Regions from separate parts of the Homo sapiens genome. Here region 1 is linked to region 2. Evidence: promoter capture Hi-C in 16 types of primary human blood cells and fetal thymus (Javierre and others, 2016). All regions are on one chromosome and are shown on one strand. The core of a region is centred on a gene start or on the middle of the fragment in contact, and the rest is flanking DNA. Distances in the headings are between cores, read along the strand shown. Region 1 overlaps RAD21 (RAD21 cohesin complex component). Region 2 holds the start of EMC2 (ER membrane protein complex subunit 2).

Region 1 (4,212 bases), core at 1,590-4,089, 8.4 Mb after region 2:
ATAACTTCCTAAGTTTATATTCTCATAGAAAGGTTGATAACATATGCAAAATACCTTGAAGCACAAGTACTTCTCTTTTTCCATGCTCATAAATTGTATTCCTTGCTTTAGGAAAAAGTCAAAGCACTAATTATGCATTAAGCTCATAAATGTTTAAACGGACATATCAACAAATAACTAGTAATAGTTTCCTAATTAAACATGATATTTATGAGGGGGAAAAAGAATAACTGCAGAAGAGTACCTTAAATGTTAAAAGGAGCTGGTTATTTTGGAGAAAGAATTACACAATTTTAATTTTCTTTATCTTTTTCCTATATTTTTCAAGTTGTCTATAATAAATATGCCTTACTTTGAAAGACAAAAAAAAGCATGTTATTTAGATAAAATGTGCTTATTGGTCACATGTTAATTTAAGTATTGTAGTCTTTTTCTAAATATTTTACTTTTAAATAAAATCTTAGATCTCAGACATTTTACTGTTCACATACTGACATAAACTGAAGTACTAGAATGTATCCTCAGTAGAAACTGTTTAAGGCATTTCTTAATAAAATACACATTATTTTAATTAGAATAAAAATTTCATCAATGCTTTTAAAAATTATAGAAAGATATGTGAATTTAAATATTAATTATCTTCTTAGATGGTGGTGTGGTTGGCAGACTCCAGTTTTATAACCAATCATTACCTAAAACAAAATAACAAAAAACTACGAAGAATATTTACTTAGGAAAAAAAGTTTAAAATCCTAAAATTGTCTTTTCTGAGCTATATTTTAAAAAATCATCACATAACAATTAGTTTCCAACATTTTAACCTCTTGATGACTCAAGTCTATGTAAGCTGCTGAAAAAAGTATTAAAAAGGCAGCTCCAAAGGAAGAACAAATGGGGGTGAGCTCCATTACTTCACAGGGAGAACAGACGCAAGTAGGTTTCCTCCCTTGAAGCACTGCCTCCCCAAGCCTTGCTCTATCTTTGAAGGGTTCCTCGTATTTCAATTAAAACAAAGCATGTAGATTTAGAAAATGTGTTTAGCTACAGTAACACAAAAAACATGAGAAACTCCAAAGTAAACAACAACAACAAAAACCAAACAAGTTTAACAATACCTGGCCGAAAAGCCATCTTTATCTTAATGAATGCTTCATTACAGTCTGCAAGAAGGTATTTGGCTTTCCTGTGATAGATTCGAACTACTCCCAGTAAGAGATGTCCTGATGTCCGTAATGCCATTTTCACCTATGAATAAAACATTAATCATATTCCAAAACCTGCATTTCGTGCCATTCATAGTCTTCTTTTTATCTTTTTCCTTTAAAGTTGCCTTATAATCACATACATTTCTCTGTCCTTACCTATAAATTCCCTGAATATCGAATATCCTGAAAAGACAGAGTGACTGGAAATTCACGAATTAACACAAACATGAAGGAAGCTAGGAAGCAAGCACTAAACCATTCCATGAATTGTGTCATTAGCACATTAAGGAGCACGTAACACTTTTGGTTGCCAATCCAGGGCCATTGTTTCTTGCTAAGTCAATTCTGATTTTGTTTGAGAAGCAAATGTCCCCCACATTGACAGATGTCTCATTCCTCTCTGCTAATACCTGTTCTTCAGTGGGCATGAAACACAGTTCAGCCAATTGAGTAATAGGTGAAGTATGCCAGAGAGTTTCTGAGAAAGATTTCCCCCCCAAAAGAACAACGCCTCTCTTCCTTCCCTCTTTCCTGCTTTGTGAATAGGTAGGGCTTGCTTGGTGCTTCATGCAGTCACCCTGTAAACCACAATGCTAAAGTATGAGGACAGGAAGCTAACACACTAAGGATGGAGAGTTCTTGGATGACATAATCAAGCTGCTGGACCAATCTCAGATCTCCCTGTTTCCAAAATTTTAGTTAATTAAGCCTGTTATTTCCCTTATTGTTTAAGCTACTTTTTAACTAAGTTTCCATTAATTGGAAAGCATACCGATTTAAAAAAAAAAGTTTGGAAAGCATACTAATTGATAAAGAACAATAGTATCCATAGCTTTTTTTCACCAGAAAATATACTCCCAACCTTTTTTCGAGGCAGATCTTGATCAACATTAACATGGGATACAGTATGTGGAAAAGCAGTAGTTGATAAAACAATGAGATAAGACTCCATCTAAACACAAGTATTCAAAATTCCTCTAGCCATAAGGAAAATTTACTGAAAGAACAAGGCAATATGAACTCAAACATCCCCAGATACTTTCCCAAACCACGCCATAAAGCACAACAAGTTCTAAGGTAACAAAAAAAGCTTTTAAACATTTGCTTAATGTTTAAATTATGATTAGTATATTGTTATTTGTAAAAGAAAATGTTGTATTTTAAATTTTATGTGTATTTTCTACAGCACTCTAGGACCCTACTTATGACTCTCAGGTTCTGTATTTATGAGCATTTTATGTGACTTACAGCATAAATGATGATGTATATGGCCATACATTTTTAGACATCCAAAATTATACCAAATTTGTGATCAAATTCAGAATTTATCAGACAATGAATCCCTAATTTTAAAAAAATTCAAAGTAAAATGTTGCTCCTAATGGAAAAACAGAATCTATTTTTATGTGGTGTTATAAAATTTAAAATTAATATTGATTGAACCTTCACCTAAGAACAAAGGAGGGAAAAAAAACCTCTGCTATTATCTTATCTAGAACTAGCAACTTTCAAAAAGTGGTGTTTGGGCAAAAGCTTTCTTTCTGGATTAGTCTGGTTCAGAGTTTAGCCTAGGAGTAGGTAAAATGAGGTATGGCATATGTTTTTGAGCTAGTGTGTGTTAAAGTGTAAACATAAATATAATAAAGATTCCAGGCTACATATTCTGGGAAAGCTCTGCAAATAGGGCCAGTGGTTCTTCCAGTGGGGGAGTGGAAGAGAGAAGAGAAAAAGTATGCAAGCTTGCAGTTGCAAATGAGCCACGTGTGACACTTATGCTAAACAACTAAACTGACATTTTCACAACAAGAACTGCACACCAAAGCAAACATTAGAAATTTCAGGCCCGTTCACTCTGTGGAAATATCTTTACATCCTGTTACCAAATAGATAAAAGCTCAGTTAGAAATGGTTTAAAAAATTTGAAGAGAAATCACTTTCTCTCATAAACACATTACAATCTTTTACATTATTCCTGAACTGTCTGCTTTCCTTTGTGGCTGTTCGTGTATATGTTCAATTATCAGATTGTCTCATACTCGTTTGTAGTGTCCCTAAAGTGGCACAAAGTACTCGGTACATATCATGAAAAAAATCTGTTATCCTTTTAAGCCACTCAATATTTGCTTACGGATGTTAAAGATTAGCCACACATATACTTTCCAGAAAGGAGTACGATTTCTACGTTTTCCATTAACTTATCCCAGTAAGCATACCTATAAAAAAAATTGAAAATACCAATGTTCTCATACAATTTGACCAGCAGTGCAAACTGGTATGATCTCACCAGAACAAACTGTTAGTGCATATCACAAATCTCAAAAACATGTCCATCACTTGGCCTATCAATTATAATCCTAAAAATAAATCTTAAGAAACACTTAAGGGCGTGAACAAACATTTAACAAGAAATGTTTACTAAATGGCTAGTCTTTAAAAAGAAAATAAAACAACCTGTAATCCTACCATCTACAGAAATCTGTAATAATCTTTTGGTATGCCTTCTAGGCTTTCCTGTGTACATGTACACAAGTTTTCTTTGTGTATATACATAAAAACTAACACAATGATTGTTAGAAGGCTGCATCCAGGAAATAGAGCAAAACTTACGAAAAGGCACAGATTTCTTATAAACACCCCCTTCCTCACACACAGATAATCTTCCCCACAATTGACACCTCCCATCGGTGTTTCATTTATTAAAATCGATAAACTTATATTAACACATCATTACCAAAAGTCCGTAGTTTACATCAGGGTTCACACGTGGTGTTATACATTTTATTAGTTTGTACAAATGTAAATGGCATTTAACTATTATACTATCATGCAAAACAGTTTTACTGCTCTAAAAAGAATAGTCTGTGCTCTGCCTACTCAACCCTCCATTCTCTCCCCAACCTACCATCTTTTTACTGTCTCATTTGTATAGTTTTGGCTTTTCCAGAGTGTCCTATAGCTGCAATCATATAATATGTAGCCTTTTTAGATTGGCTTATTATACTAAGTA
Region 2 (3,880 bases), core at 700-3,199:
AGTTCTGTGTGGGATATGTTAACTTTGAGATGCGTATCAGCTAGCTATCTGAGTACGTCAAGCAACCAGACTGGGTTTTGGGAAGGTTTATCAGTTTGGGACTGATCAGCATATAAACAGTATTTCTAGACATAGGATGGTACCTCCATGAGAGTGCCACGCAGGGGCTTTAGCTGCAGCATCTGTTTTTATCTTGATTAACAACACAAGGTAGCTATTTTCTTTTTACACACATATTATTAGATTTTTATATATGAGCCTTTTTGATGTTTAGAGAGAAATAAGCTGAAAGTCACCCAGCTACTGAAAGGTAGAGCCTGGATTCAGATCTGGGAGTTCTTGTTCTTCCTATTGCACCAGGTTGCTTTACTGGAGCATTAAAATATGTGAATTTCTGAGTATTTTTTAACTTTTTGAATGAAAGATTTTTAAAAAGTCTGTTTAGAAAGAATGCCAGCTCATTCAGAATTGAATCCAAGTATATACATTCACTAGTCTTCTCTGTTGTTAAGTGACTTCTCTGGGGTCTATGGTTTGATGGTTTTTTTCCTTTTTTTAAACAAACAAACAAAAAAACCTCTGCGGTTGACTGGAGCCGACAGGTGAGGAATGGAGAGATGTTGGTCAAATAGTACAAACTTTTGGTTGTAAGATGAATATGTTCTGGAGATCGAATGTACAGCATGGTGACTACAGTTATAATTCTGTATTGTATACTTTGAAGTTTGCTGAGAGATTTTTAAGTGTTCTCAACACACACACACACACACACACACAGGAAATATGTACGGTGATAGATGTGTTAATTAGCTTGCTTGTGGTAATCATTTCACAGTGTATATTTACATCTAATCATTACTTTGTATACCTTAAATATACACAATTTTTGTCCATTACACCTCAATAAAGCTGAGAAAAAAAACCCTCCACTCTTTTGACTTGTGGGATAGTATTATTTCTACTTCTCAAATCAACTGCCCCTTCTTTACTGACCAATAACTTTCGGCTGCATTGCAGTGATTTTTAGTTTTTTCTCAGCTTACATATTTCCTCTACAATCTCATGTCCCCATTGCTTCAAATACTAAATATACGCTTATCATCCTCAAATTTTTTACTTCCTGTCCAGACATTTCTCCTTAAGTCTAGGAGATGACGTCCAAAGTTTCCTAAAAGCAATTAGTCTGGTGGGAAAGGAGGCTCCCCCATCCACCCAGGAGTAATGAGGAGCGAAGTTCAGGAACTGTGAAGGTCTCATTCGTACATTCATTCCTTATAAGTACTTACATACTCGCGACAGTTTGAAACCTAGTGTGGCATGCAGACATGGATGAAGCAATGACAGGCACGACGAGCGTTAATGAAGGGTATAAGCTAGCGCGAGGGCATTCAAGGGAACTTCAGAGCGCAAAGGAAGAATCCCACTTAGTCTCTCAAAACTTTGGAGTTTATCCGTTTAGTCGATTAAAAAGTGAACGGAAAGCAAATCCCATTACGGAAGGAGGAAAGTTGGGGACAAATAAGGGATTCGTGCAGAAGGCTGCACTGCGGCCGGCCATGAAGAGAATAAGGGTACTTAAGGGAGTGTGAAGAGAATGAACAAGCCTAGGTAGAAAAAACTGAAAAGCCAGGATTGACGGACACTAAAAACCCAGCATTTGTTAAAAATCCACGTCAACACACACACACACCTCACCCCGAGCCAGCACCGTAGCCCCGCCAGCAGCCAGGGTATCCTGAGATTGCGGGAGCGCCACGCACCGCCCACCTAGCTCCGTCCACCGTCCAGCTCGCTCCGCCCAGCTCGCTCCGCCCCCTTCCCCGAAAGCCCCTCCGCAGAGCCGCGTGCACGTGCGTGGCGGATACCGCCCCCTCTGCTCTCTTGGCCAATGAGAAAAAGCTACGTAACTCTCCACCGCCCGGTGGCGGGTCACGTGACTGCGTCTCCCCGCCCTCTCACCCCGCTGCCTCTAGGTTCTGGGAAGATGGCGAAGGTCTCAGAGCTTTACGATGTCACTTGGGAAGGTAACTTCGGGTGGGGGCGGGTGCGGAAAGACTAAAAGCGCTGGGAAGCCGTTCGGGAGTACCCGCTGCTTTCGGGGAGCTGGGTTCTCTGGTGTCTTTTTGGTACCAGAGCCCTCACTGTACGGGCCAAGCTGAGGTGGAGGCTGAGGCTGACCCTTCCCTTGGCCCGGACGCGTACTCTGCAGCGTTTCCCACGGTGTCTGCTCCTCGGTTGACCTGCCCTCCTCCGCGCCAGTCCAGCGTCCCGGGGCCGCTTTTATTTATGAGGCGGGCGGGAGGGACTTGGGGCTGGGGTTGTCGCACGCTAACTGGTTGCTGGGCGGTGCGGAAGAGGCGGAATAGGTGGTTACTGAAGCTTCTTTGGAGCCAAGAAACACAGGGCCTGTAAGGCCCTTTACTAAGTGGTGTGTAAGGATTACAGCTCTGTGCAGAAAAGCTGTGTAAAAGATGCGTGAACAAATGTGATTCTCATATGCCACTCTACATTTAGTTTTCTTCTTAAACCCGGGTTTCCAGTTTCTTTTCCTTTTAGTCTAGTCTCTGTCCCACTCCTTCTCAAAACACATTTACACACACAACACAACTTCTTTCTTACTCCCTACTAGTAGTTTCTTTTCTGAAGGGAAAAATAACTAATTAACTCTGGGCTACGTAAGTGCTTACGTGTGATGGTCACTTTTCCCTATCCTTAGTTGATCTAGAGTGGGATATGTTCTTTAAATCTGGGAACAGCCAAACCTTGGATCAATTCTGTGTGCTTAAGAAACTTGAGTTTCATTAAGGCGTGGAATTTGTGTAATTGGAATTCATATTCCCAGCATTTAACATAATACAGGAGACTTCAGTAGCTAATTTGCTTAACGAATGCCTTCTTGGGATGTTTTAATAATGACCTGAAAACATGTGGACCGAAAGTTGTATTTTCTGTTTTATCGTGAATAAATATATCAGTTATTATAAAGTTGTAAATCCGTTACAAATAAAGCAAAATTTCTTTGTACTTGAACTGAATTAAATGATTTATTGACTTTATGGCCTCTAGCACGTTGTGAATCTCAGTATTTATACCTGAATTGAGGGATTCCATTATATTAAACAACAGTGTTGATTTCTTACTGCAAAATCTTGGCTCTGTCAACACACAGTCCCCACTTCCAAGGAAGTCACAATCTAATGGAGAAAACAAACCTGTAAACACACAGTTTTAAAAGGCTTGTGTCAGGGTATCTTCCGTAAGCTGAGTCGTAGATAAATGGATGTTATTTTTAATGCTTTTTAAAAAATGTTTTAAATATTACATAATTTTTAGAAAATGCTATTATGAAGGTATGTTCATTATAGGTTTCCTAGATGATAGTAGCATATATAAAATCCTGAGGGACGAGTAGCTGTATACTACCAACAGACAAGGTGATTTAACTGAGTAATTGGACCTTACCCTGTGGTCATTCTAAAGAGGATTGATGTAATTAATTTGGAATAATAAATAATAACTACTACACAAATTTGTAGGAACAAAGAAAACATTTTAAAGTGCTTTGTAAACTGTTAAGTACTATATAAAAGGATGTGTTACTATTAGCTAGTGCTAATATGATTATGTCCTTCCTCTGTATGATCTGGCGGTTGCCCATGTCTCCAGCTTTATCTTGAGCCCTTCTCCCTCTCACTTTGTGAGCTGCCTATGCTGGCCTTTGTTGAATACCCTAAATTGCCATGCTGCTTCTTAAAGCTGGCACATGCTAGTCCTTCCACTGGGAGTGTTCTTCCCTCCTTGCCTCACTCTTGCCCCCATTAAACTTTATCATTTATCAATTCCCCACAAAGCTCACCTACTACAAAAAAGCCTTACTTGA

What was found. The method cuts DNA at HindIII sites, captures the fragments that hold promoters and counts their contacts. A CHiCAGO score of 5 or more calls a contact.
Region 1: a contact is called between a fragment that was not itself captured here and the fragment with the promoter of EMC2 in region 2, in 1 of 17 cell types (naive CD8 T cells). The highest score is 5.0, in naive CD8 T cells.

The regions. Positions count from the first base shown.
Region 1 is chr8:116,862,015-116,866,226 of GRCh38, forward strand. It overlaps RAD21 (RAD21 cohesin complex component), which reads right to left. Exons shown (of 14, transcript NM_006265.3): 3 at 1,116-1,245. Among named protein-coding and RNA genes, the nearest start is that of RAD21-AS1, 10 kb to the right of the region's middle. The HindIII fragment of the contact is 206 bases long and covers 2,737-2,942 here.
Region 2 is chr8:108,441,675-108,445,554 of GRCh38, forward strand. It overlaps EMC2 (ER membrane protein complex subunit 2), which reads left to right and starts at 1,950. Exons shown (of 11, transcript NM_014673.5): 1 at 1,950-2,024. The coding sequence starts at 1,985. It overlaps LOC105375704 (a long non-coding RNA gene), which reads right to left and starts at 1,798. Exons shown (of 3, transcript XR_928530.4): 1 at 1,696-1,798. RefSeq lists a silencer at 1,784-1,903. The HindIII fragment of the contact is 5,303 bases long and covers 1-2,377 here.